Regions from separate parts of the Homo sapiens genome. Here all the other regions are linked to region 2. Evidence: promoter capture Hi-C in human tissues and cell types (Jung and others, 2019). All regions are on one chromosome and are shown on one strand. Each heading gives the region's core, a stretch centred on a gene start or on the middle of the fragment in contact. The rest is flanking DNA. Distances are from core to core; before and after follow the strand shown. Region 1 holds the start of C19orf81 (chromosome 19 open reading frame 81). Region 2 overlaps LOC105372441 (a long non-coding RNA gene). Region 3 holds the start of KLK13 (kallikrein related peptidase 13).

Region 1 (3,849 bases), core at 1,232-3,731, 190 kb before region 2:
GGGACTACAGGTGCCCGCCACCACACCCGGCTAATTTTTTGTATTTTCAGTAGAGACGGGGTTTCACCGTGTTAGCCAGGATGGTCTTGATCTCCTGACCTCGTGATCCGCCCGTCTCGGCCTCCCAAACTGCTGGGATTACAGGTGTGAGCCACCGCGCCTGGCTGCGGGAGGGATTATTTATATAAAATAATTAATAAAGGGTAGGTGGAGAATGTTTGGAGGGGTGAGGTTGGGAGAGGGAGGTGAGGTTAGATCATGCAGCTCTTTCAGTCCAGGTGAGGGGCTGAAAGTTTGTCTAAGGCACTGGGGAGCCCTGGGAGGGCCGTGAGCAGGGCAGGGGCAGGTCAGTTCCGGGCACAGAAAGACCACTCTGGAGCCTCACTTGTGGGGAGAGGAATGAGGGCGAGAGAATGGAGGATGGGGCGGCCAGGAGGCTGGGCCAGGTGTGGTGGCTCACACCTGTAATCCCAGCACTTTGGGAGGCTGAGGTGGGAGGATTGCTTGAGCCCCAGAGTTTGAGACCAGCTTGGGCAACACGGTGAGACTCCATCTTAAAAAAAATAAATAGCTGGGCGTAGTGGTGTGGGCCTGTGGTCCCCATTACTCGGGAGACTGAGGTGGGAGGATTGCTTGAGCCTGGGAGGTCAAGGCTGTTATACCGCTGCACTCCAGCCTGGGGGACACAGTGAGACCCTGTCTCAAAAACAAACAAACAAAAAAGGAGGCTGGGGCAAGGGTCCCAGCAGGAGAGGACGAGGTCTGAGTGGCTGCTAGAGCTATGGGAGTAGAGAGGAGAGGAAGGAGAGGCAGAAGGAATAGAACTTGGAGACAGATAGGCTGTGAGGGTCAGGTGTGCCTGTGGTCAAGGCAATCATGTCCTCCATCCCGCTGAGATAAAATTGCCAGCTGGAAATGGAAGACAGCTTGATGGGAGAGAAGCAGATGTGAAGATGCCAGGAGGGGGTCAGGGCCCCCAGAACTGAGTAAGACTATTTCAATCTGGACTGTTTTAATTGCTAATAACGGAAACGCAAATCAAATTGACCTAAGCATAAAAGGAAGTTTATTGATTGGATGAGGGCTTCAGGCATTGCTGGATCCAGGTGTTCCAATCATCTCCAGGAATCCAACTGTCTGTATCTTTGGGCTATGCTTCCCTCGTGTTGTCTTTGCTCTCAGGCAAGTTATCTCCCTGCATGGTGATGTGGTAGCACCGAGAGCTCCAACCCTGGCTCTGACCAGCCCCAAAACCACAGGGGAAAAACCCTGTTTTCTAACAGGTCCAGCAAAAGTCCAAAGGTTGACTTTGTAGCCTAGATTGATTCTTAAGCTCGCCACTGAACAAATCACTGAGGAAATCAAGGTGCCACCACCTAGAACGAATACTTAGTAAGCAGGAACAACAGACAGTCCAGAGACCATCTGGATGTGGAGAAAGAGGAAGAGAAAGAGATACAAGTAACAGAGACAAAGACTGCAAGGACAGACAAAACAAATAAGCGAAGGTCCAGCTTCCTCTCCCACAATTCCTGCAGAGAGCTCTGCAGACCCAGAGAAAGGGATGCTGAACAGGCACCTACACGGCTAGACCCCTTCTCTCTAGCACGAGAGGCCCCGTGAGACCCCAGACCCAGAAGTCCAGGCCCCCATCCTCTCCTCCCTCAGACCCAGGAGTCCAGACCCCAGGCCCTCCTCCCTCAGACCCAGGAATCCAGGCCCCCACCCCTCCCCCTCCCTCTGGAGGCACCATGGCAACCAGGCCCCCTGCCCACCATCCCCTCCCCACTAGAGAACCCACTTTCGTTGGAATCTCGCCTGTTTCTAACCAGTTCCTGGCTGGGGCAGGGATGAGCAGAGGGCAAGTGGGAACAGAAAGGGGATGACAGAGGGGAGGGGGCCTCAAGGGGGCAGTGGAGGCAGCTAGGAGAGGATAGAGATGGGGCAAGGAGACTGGTGAGAGGTGGGAAGACAGAGAGAGGGTGACGGGGTTAGGGAGAGGCAGAAAACGATGAAGACAAGGAGGGACGGGGGCCTGGGGAGATGCTGGGGAAACTGATGGAGACTGAAGAGATGGAGCCCAGGAGAGAAGGAGGGAGGAGGAGGGCAGAGAAATCAAGCAAAAGAGTGGTGGAGACGTGGGGACAGAGGGGAGGAGGCAGGGGGGCAGAGAGATGGGGAGAGAATGAGGAAGGGAGGTGGAGAGAGAGGGGTGGGGAAAGGGACTCTAGGAGACAGAGAGAGATAGGAGGAAAAACAGGGAAATGGGAAAGAAGGGATTGGGGCACACAGGGAGTCCCTGAGGTCAGGGGAACCCAGATCTCCACATGGTCTCAGCCTTCCAGTTCCTCTGTAATTCTACCCCGGGGCTTCAAAGAGGAGGTAGAGGAGGCAGCGGTGGGGAGAAGGAGCTGGGGTGGGTGGCCCAGGCAGAGCCTCTCTTGCCACCTTCCTGAGACATCCCTCACCCACCTTCCCAGGATGCAGCCAGAGGTGGAGCCCGTGTGCTTCCCTGCCATGGGCAGCCCCACCATGCACAGGAAGGCAGGTACTGAGCTGTGTCTTTGGGGGAAGGGGTGGACTTCCTCCATCCAGGCAGTGCGTAGTAGCCCGGGCTCACAGTGTGGCCTTAAGCGAGTCACTGGCACTCCAAAGTGAAAGCCATCCCTAGCATTCCTGGATTCACCAGATTCCTGGAGAGCGGCCCCCTTGGACCTCAAACTACATTTCCCATGAGCCTCTGCAGTTCCTTGGCCAATGCCCTGGACTCAGAACTACATTTCCCATGAGCCTCTGGGGCCTAAGCAACACCTCTGAGGCCATTCTTCTCCTAGGTAACCTCACTGTCTTGTCTCCCACCCTGAGCTCAGCATCTTCCCCCAAAGCTGCTCTCCTCCTTCCTGGTTTCCATTTTCAAATGGCCCCACCGCCAACCCAGTCACTGGTGCCATCCTTCCACCTCCCACAATTCCCTCCCACAGCCCATCAGGCCCTATCTTCCTGCCCTCTGACTCTCCCTTCCCCATTCCTTCCTCTCTGTCCCCGCAGCCCTGTCCCAGGTCTCATCCTCTTCCATGTGGACCCTCTCCTCACCTCCTCCCTGGTCCCCAGTTTCTCTCCTCCTACCTATCCCTCCATGGCTCCAGAGAGGTCTCTCTGACTTCCTGCAGTGATCCTGGCTGTCCCTTGCTCATAACACTTCCTAGCTTCCTGTCACCTCTAGGACAGAGACCCAAAGCTCCAGCCTGGCTTTTGAGGCCCTGTGTGGTCTGACCCCTGCTGACAACTTCAGGCTCCTAGCCCAGCACTTCCTGCTAGCACTCTGTGCTGTAGCACAGCTCATGCAGTTACACTCATTCAACATTTATGGAGTAGTATCTCAGTGAGGATGCATGTAACTGCAGGTAATAGAAAACCAAACTCAGGACTGGGTGTGGTGGCTCACGCCTATAATCCCAGCACTTTGGAGGCCGAGGTGAGTGGATCACCTGAGGTCAGGAGTTCAAGGCCAGCCAGCCTGGCCAACATGGTGAAACCCCATCTCTAAAAATACAAAAATTAGCCAGGTGTGGTGCCGGGTGCCTGTAATCCCAGTTACTAGGGAGGCTGAGGCAGGAGAATCGCTTGAACCCAGGAGGCAGAGGCTGCAGCGAGCCAAGATTGTGCCACTGCACTCCAGCCTGGGTGATGGAGGGAGACTCTGTCTCAAAAAACAAAACAAACAAACAAACAAACAAAAACACCCAAAACCAAAACTCACTGCAGCCTTGAGCTCCTGGCTCAAGTGATCCTCCCACCTCAGCCTTCGAGGCCGAACAAATGCCCTGATGGCAAAACAGGCGTTGTTTC
Region 2 (3,974 bases), core at 477-2,976:
CTTCCATAATGATTTATTTATTGGCTAGGATAGTAAATACAACATGTCCTTCCGGGGCAGGTGGATCAGCAGTCCGACATAACAAAGATAATATCTCTCCGAGTTTCAAAGTCAAGCAGATTTCCTTGCATCTCCCTTATAAGATTGAAGATTTGTAAATACATGTAAACAGAGGTTCCCCAGCATTGACGCAAACCACTGTGTGCGCAGCATCTGCCTGAGCCACTCTGATCATCCCTGTAGGACCTGGGGGGCAAGGTGAGCCCATGTGAACATGAATCTCATGCTGCCGGCTGTGCCATGAGTAATAAAGTCCTTTGTCTCTGACCCGGAGTTGTTGTGTGTTCTGCCAATAGTTTCACTGGATACAAAATTCTTGGCTGATAATTGTTTTGTATAAGGAGGCTAAAGACAGGACCACAATCCCTTCTAGGTTGTAGGGTTTTTGCTGAGAAATCTGCTGTCAATCTAATAGGTTTTCCTTTATAGGTTACCTGATGCTCCTTCATCTTGACTTTAGATAACCTGATGACTATGTGCCTAGGGGGGTCATCTTTTTTTTGTTTTGTTTTGTTTTGAGATGGAGTCTCACTCTGTTGCCCAGGCTGGAGTGCAGTGGTGCGATTTCGGCTCACTGCAACGTCCGCCTCCCGGGTTCAAGAGACTCTTCCGCCTCAGCCTCCCGAGTAGCTGGGATTACAGGTGCGTGCCACCACACCCGGCTACTTTTTTATATTTTTAGTAGAGAAGGGGTTTCACTGTGTTAGCCAGGATGGCCTCGATCTCCTGACCTTGTGATTGGCCTGCCTAAGTCTCTTAAAGTTCTGGGATTACAGGCGTGAACGACTACGCCCGACCAGTGGTCATCTTTTTGCAATGAATTTCCCAGGCGTTCTTTGAGCTTCTCATGTTTGGATATCTAGATCTCTAGCAAGGCCAAGGAAGATTATTCCCCTCAAATATGTTTTCCAAACTTTTAGATTTATCTTCTTCCTTGGGAACATGAATTATTCTTAGGTTGGTTGTTTAACATAATCCCAAACTTCTTGGAGGTCTTGTTCATTTTTTAAAAATACTTTTTTCTTTGTCTTTGTTGGATTGGGTTAATCCAAAAGTCTTGTCTTTGGGCTCTTAAGTTCTTTCTTCTACTTGTTTGATTCTATTGCTGAGACTTTCCAGTGTATTTTGCATTTCTCTAAGTGTGTCCTTCATTTCCAGAAATTGTAATTGTTTTTGATTTACGCTATTTCTCTGGAGATTTTTCTGTCCATATCCGGTAACACTTTTTAAAATTTCTTTAAGTTGGTATTCACCTTTCTCTGGTGCCTTCTTGAGTAGCTTAGTAATTGATCTTCTGATTTTTTTTTTTTCTGGCAATTTCAGAGATTTCTTTTTGGTTTGGATCCATTGTTGGTGAGCTGGTGTGATCTTTTTGGCGTGTTAAATAACCTTGTTTTGTCGTATTACCAGAATTGGTTTTCTGGTTCCTTCTCCTTTGTAGACTATGTCAGAAGGAAGATCTGGGTCTCAAGGGCTGCTCAGATTCTGGATTTAGCTACCCAGTGGAGCGTCTGCGCTCTGGGCTGGTACTGGGGGGTGTCTGCAAAGAGTCCTGTGATGTGATTCATCTTCAGGTCTCTTAGCTGTGGATATCAGCACCTGCTCCGTTGGAGGTAACAGAGGAGTAAAGTAGACTCGCTGGGGTTCCTTGGTTGTATTATTTTTTAGTGCGCTGGTTTTGTGTTGGTTGGCCTCCAGCCAGGAGACGGCACTTTCAAGACAGCATCAGCTGCAGTAGTACAGGGAGGAAAACAGCTTGCCCTAGGGTTACCTGGATAAGTATTCAGGTTTCTCAGGTGGAGGATGGGGCCAGATAGCTTCCAAGAGAGTATGTCCTTCGTCTTTGGCTACTAGGGCAGGTAGAGGAACACCATCAGGTGGGGGCAGGGTTAGGGGTGTCTGAGTTCAGACTCTCCTTGGGTAAGGGTCGCTGTGGCTGCTGTGTGGGGGTGGGGTGTGGTTCTCAGGCCAATGAGGTTATGTTCCCAGGGGAATTATGGCTGCCTCTACTGCATCATGTGGGTCACCAGGGAAGTGGGAGAAAGCCAGCAGTTTCAGGGCTCACCCAGCTCCCATGCAGCCCAAAAAGCTGGTCTCATTCCCACTGTGTGCATCCCCAATCAATGCACAGTTTGTTTGCAGGCAGCAGGTGCGCAGGGCTGGGAACTCGCCCCAGGCTACAAGCCTCCCTGCTGAGAAAGCAAGCAGGGCTTTCAGGTTTCGTGCCTCCCCACCTGCTGCAGCTTCTGTGCTCATGTCTGCACTCACAGTTCACCCCCTCCCCTGAGTTCTGTCCAGGAAACTTCGTGTTCAGTTGAAATTGTTGCAAAGTTCAGCTGGAAGCTTCCTTCTCCCTGTAGTCTTTCCCCAATTCCGTTGGCAGCCCTCCCCAAGGACCCCTGTGAGATGAAGTCAGAAATGGCTTCCCTGGGGACCAACAGTACCCTCAGGGCTCTTCCTGCTGCTTTCTCTACCCCCCGTATTTCATTCAGCTCTCTAAGTTCATCTCGGCTCCAGGTAAGGTCAAATCCTTCTCCCATGATCTGGACCTTCAGATTCCCCAGTGAGGATGTGTGTGCAGGGGCGGATGATCCCCCCTTCACACTTTTCACACTTTGAGCACTCACAGTTTTTCAGCTGTCTCCTGGAGCCTGCAGCAGCAATGTGCTTCCTTCAAAGGGTCTGTGGGTTCTCTTGGCTTTCCTGGTATGTTCCTGCAGTAGTTCTTGGAGCAAAAATTCAAGACGTGAGTCTCCACATGCTGCTCTGTCCATCTGAGTGGGAGCTGCAAGTTAGTCCTGCTTCCTAGCCACCATTTTCTCCCCACATTAGCTTTTTGACTTTTCTTTATATATATATATATATATATATATATATATATATATATATATATATATATGTTTGTTTTTTTTAATTATACTTTAAGTTCTAGGGTACATGTGCACAACGTGCAGGTTTGTTACATATGTATACATGTGCCATGTTGGTGTGCTGCACCCATTAACTCGTCATTTACATTAGTTATATCTCCTAATGCTATCCCTCCCCCCACTTGACTTTTCTTTTTTATTAATTGCCTGTTCATATGCTTTGTCCATTTTTTTAGGGGTTGCTCTCTTGTTCATGTCAGAAGTTTCTTGTGCCTTCTAAATGGTGATCTCTTTTTGGTTTTGAACATTGTATAAGTCATCTTTTATAAATAGAAATTCTGAATTCTTATACAAGTTTCTGGATGACAGTGCCCTCTAAGCAAAAATTCTAAATTTTCCTATAATGAAGTACATCCAAATTTTGGTCTATGATTTGTGCTTCTGAAGTTGTGTCAAGAAGCCTTTTCTTTGTGTTAGATAACAAAGGTTATCTCTCATATTTTCTAGCCTCTCTAACCCTCTCTGTTTGTCCATCTGTTTCTGTATCTCATCCCATCTATATAGCTATTCATTAATTTCTCATTTAACTGATATTTGCTAGTTGTCACAACTGTGACTTGATGAAGATAACATAAACTCATAATAATATCCCTCAATAAGAAAAGGAACGATAAACTAGTGTCATTAGCTTATAAACCGTGTTAGATTAATTGGTGGATCAGAACACTTGAAATGTCCTGAAATCTTTCAGCTGACATTTGAAAGAAACTTACTATTATTTCTCCCCAAATTGGGCAAGAATCCTAGACAAATCATATGAAATTTAAATAAATAAAAGCTTTGAAGCTGAAAGAAATGTTTCTAAAGGATTAATAATGAAAAACAGATTTTGATCAAATATGATAAAAATGAAATTATTTTTCTTCCCCTAGAAAATGAGATTACAGGCCGGGTGTGGTGGCTTACACTTGTAATCCTAGCACTTTGGGAGGCCAAGGTGAGCGGATCATGAGGTCAGTAGTTCAAGATCAGCCTGGCCAACAT
Region 3 (3,911 bases), core at 1,174-3,673, 220 kb after region 2:
ACCTTATGCAAATCACCAGCCTCAGTTTCCCCAGCTGTCAAGTAGAAAAAGTAATAGTTCATCTCTCATTGCGCAGTTGAAGAATTCAAGATGATCCTGCATTTCAAACCGTGCAGCACAGCAGGTGGCATGGAGAGCACTCAGTCAGTGGGAAATGTTATTATTAATTATTAGCTACAACAGGAGGTCCCTCTGCCTCCCTAGCTAGTTTCCCCAACTACAGGGCAAGCAGTTGGATTAGCTCAGTGGTTTGCAGTTAGGGACAGAAGTTGTCGGTGAGCACAGGATCATTTTAGATGGTAGAGAGATGAGATTTAAGTAACGTTAAATCGCACACTCAGACGCTGAACCAGCATCCAGTTCTCTTTTAAACCTGATTTTGTCAAGGATAAAGTCTCAGGATGGTGCTAATATGGTTTTAACACCTCCCTAATCCTCACTGAGCTCACTTTTCAAAGCCAGGAGGACACAGAAGCCTCATCAGGCCACCTAACATTTATTACACTGAACCATCTGCAAAAGTTGTTTTAGGAAGGTCAAAAAGGGTCAAGTATCAGCAATTTCAGGTGGTCCAACCCAATAAACATATTATTTTCTTTTCATTGTGCAGGATTTATTTCCTTCCTTACCTTCTATTTATGACAAAGAATTCTATTCTCTATTCAGGACAGTAATATAAAGTTGAACATGCTTTTGTTTGAGTGAAAAAAGAAGAAAAAAAGCTAACTTTAAGCAAATGATTAGGTCAAAAGTTATAAAAATGGTTTTCAGAGCCTCAAGTCCAGGATATGGACAGGGAAAACAACCTTGATTAGGATTCTGACTCAGGCATCGCCGGTGTCATTGGAGCAGGAGCCTTCTGTCTTTGAGTCCTAGGTTTCTCTGCCATGAAATTGGAGTAATTACAATGCACCTACCTCGCCAGGTTGTTGAGGACTCCACAAGGCGTAGCGTGTGGGTCTCCTAGCCTAGGGTGTGGCACTCAGGAGTGGCACGGGCATGAATCCAGGGAGTGTCGCCAGAGGAGAAAAGCCACCCCACCTTCAGGCCAAGGATGGTGCCAGGTGCCAGGCACCCACAGATCCCTCCTTTTTCAGGTCTTGGCTCAAGGGTCAAGCCCTTTGGGAAGGCCTCTGGTCGGGAAGCCGCCATTACATCTCTAGGCCCCTGGCTTGGCTCCTTGAAGTCTTCACCTCATGTCAAGATAATTATTAACTAATTATTTGGATAATTGTTTGAATAACATCTGCGTCTGTCCCCGCTAGACTCCAGGTGCTGAGAGCAGGGACTGTGTCTCTGCTTGTACAGCACCCAGCACAGTGGCCGGTGTTTAATAGCTGTTTGTTGAATGAATAAATGATTCATGAACGGGGTTTCCAGAGAACCTGCCTACAACGGCAGGGAAAGATGGGAAAGATCCATAAGGATCTTAAGGACTACCAATTTGGGGTGAGGTCACATAGGTTTGGGGTCAACCCAAGGATTAAAATAACAATCTAGAAGGTTCTGGAAGGGGCTGAGTATGAAGACAGAATACTAGAGGCCGGGCTCGGTGGCTCATGCCTGTAATCCTGGCACTTTGGGAGGCTGACGCGGGCTACTTGAAGTTAGAAGTTCGAGACCAGCCTAACCAACATGGCGAAACCCCGTCTCTGCTGAAAATACAAAAATTAGTTGGGCGTGGTGGCGGGCGCCTGTAATCCCAGCTACTCGGGAGGCTGAGGCAGGAGAATCGCTTCAACCCGGGAGGCGGAGGTTTCAGTAAGCCAAGATCGTGCCACTGCCTTCCAGCCTGGGAGACAGAGCAAGGTTCCATCTCAAAAAAAAAAAAAAAAAAAAAAAGGAATACTACTAATAAAGTAATAACGGCTAAGTGGCTAACTTTCAAGTCCCTTCTACCTGCGACATACTGAAGGCTCGACGCATTACCTCGTTTCAATATTCACAGTGACCTTCTCTGGTAAGCACTTATAGATTAAGCCCATTTTCCAGATGAAAACAATTTAGGCACAAAGCAGCTGCTAGGCTACTGGCTCAAAGCGGCAGCGTCAGGACGCGAACCCATGTCTTTCAGCTTTCCAGAGAGGACAGGAAGCCTTGAACGCGGGAGGGGCTGCTGCGAGGGTATTTTGGGAGGTGAAGGGTCTGGGGTCGGAGGGCCAACCTCAGCCGGGAAACCAGGTCACCCAGGGACAAGCAGGAAGAGCTCTGAGCTGTCCCCACTGGACCCGGCCCCGAGTGGGCGGGGGGCGGAGCTCGCGGCTCCCACGCCCCCTCCCCCTCCGGCCTGACCCCTCCTACCATTGTCCCGAATGGCCGCCGCGCCTCCACCCCCGCGCATTCTTACCTCCTGACAAGGCCAAGGTCAGGGAGGCGATCACTAGGGCCAGGGGCCACATGGCTCCGGGATCGGGAGGGGAGGGCAGGGCGGGCGGGGCCTGAGGAGAAGGTGAAGGGGGTGTTGAGGGCGTGCCCGGAACCTCCGCGTCTGAAACCTCTCTGCTCCTGAATGTCTCCTCGCCTCATTCACTCTTGACAGCCCTGACCCTGGAATCTGCCCCCCGCCTCCAATTCCATCCTTGGTGGGGGTGCAGTGGCGAGGTGGGAGGAACAGTGTGCAACCTCCTGGGGCTCCGGCGTGCAGCCCCTCACCCCAGGAAGCCGTCCCTCCTCCCCTGCCCTCTGGCGAGCTGGGTGGTCGGTGCACTCTCGCCCTTTTCCTCCAGAGTCTGCCTTCCATTCTACCCCTCTGGGTCTGTCCACACGCTTGGTATTAGCCCAAGTTCTTATCTGTCCGCGCCCTTCGCCTCTCTCCGTCTCTGCAGGTTTCTCTCTAGATCTGAGACTCTAGCTTCACTCTCCCTCTCCCTGACTCAGCTGCCCTTCTGCTTTCCCCATCCTTCCTATCCCCTCTTCTCTCCCCTCCCTGCCCTCCTCCGCTCCCCGCCCCCGCCCCAGGCAGACCCTACCTGAGTGAGGGGCCCACGAGGAGCGTCAGCCGCCAGCTGTCTAGAACTTCAGCCCCGAACCATGGCTTTTAACCCCTGAACTCCCTCCCCCAGCTCACTCAGCATTTCCTGGTCCCTGGCCTCCCCCTCTCCACCCCCAGTGGCTCAGCGGGATGTCTCCAGGCACCCCCGACCTGGGCTTGGCCCTCTGCTTGGGGCGGAGCTTCCAGGACGTGCTGGGACCTAGGTCTGACCCCGCCCAAGGCAGAGTTGAACCCACTGTGAACTTTCAGGCCTCAGGACCCAAAAAAGGGTAAGGGGAAAGCCCATTTCCTTCCCCCTACCCCGCTGAGTTCCATGCCCATCCCTAACTTCAACCCATTCTGCACCCAGTTTTCTAACCTCTTCTCCAACCCCATGCATAATTCTTAATAGGCAGTCAGCCCCCAGATGGCCGTGTTCTATCAGATTCCCACCTCCCTATCCATCCCTAACCATACCAAGTACTCCAGCCTGTTCCTCAACCCCAGTCCCATCTCCAACCTCATCTCAGGTTTAGCTCTCAACACATCCAGGTTCCAATTCCCAGTCTCATCTCAACCCTTTTTCTTTTGAAAGACACAAGGACACCCACAATTATCCCATCATCCTGCCTCCCTGCTCCCGCCAACCACCGGACACAAGAAGGAAATCATCAGCTGGGTGGATAGAAAATCAGCTCCCTCGGACTTGGATGGGGGCAGAGATGCGACCTGAGAAAGCAACATTTTCCAGAAATGGCCTTTTAGGAGCAGGGCCAGAGGGGGTGAGGGAGTCCACGGGGACCTAGGTGGAGAGGAAAAAGCAGGAGCCGGAAAGCTTTGAAGACGTGGATTGGGGGTGGGGGAGAGGAAGGAGGAAGGGGTGGTGTTTTGAGAATGAGTAGGTGTCTCCAGGAACTATGACTGGGTGGAGCCCTGAGTT

What was found. The method cuts DNA at HindIII sites, captures the fragments that hold promoters and counts their contacts. A contact is called where the count stands out against the background at its distance.
Region 1: a contact is called between the fragment with the promoter of C19orf81 here and a fragment that was not itself captured in region 2, in 3 of the 25 tissues and cell types used here (dorsolateral prefrontal cortex, pancreas and spleen).
Region 3: a contact is called between the fragment with the promoter of KLK13 here and a fragment that was not itself captured in region 2, in 4 of the 25 tissues and cell types used here (H1 embryonic stem cells, dorsolateral prefrontal cortex, pancreas and 1 more).

What each region holds. Positions count from the first base shown.
Region 1 is chr19:50,646,964-50,650,812 of GRCh38, forward strand. It overlaps C19orf81 (chromosome 19 open reading frame 81), which reads left to right and starts at 2,482. Exons shown (of 5, transcript NM_001195076.2): 1 at 2,482-2,548. The coding sequence starts at 2,482. It also overlaps a transcript of SYT3 not described here. RefSeq lists an enhancer at 1,366-1,415. The HindIII fragment of the contact is 25,500 bases long and covers 1-3,849 here.
Region 2 is chr19:50,842,235-50,846,208 of GRCh38, forward strand. The region is part of intron 2 of LOC105372441 (a long non-coding RNA gene); the gene reads left to right. Among named protein-coding and RNA genes, the nearest start is that of KLK15, 11 kb to the left of the region's middle. RefSeq lists enhancers at 1,659-2,181, 2,182-2,703. The HindIII fragment of the contact is 7,245 bases long and covers 1-3,974 here.
Region 3 is chr19:51,062,669-51,066,579 of GRCh38, forward strand. KLK13 (kallikrein related peptidase 13) reads right to left here and starts at 2,424. Exons shown (of 5, transcript NM_015596.3): 1 at 2,348-2,424. The coding sequence starts at 2,399. The HindIII fragment of the contact is 7,460 bases long and covers 1-3,911 here.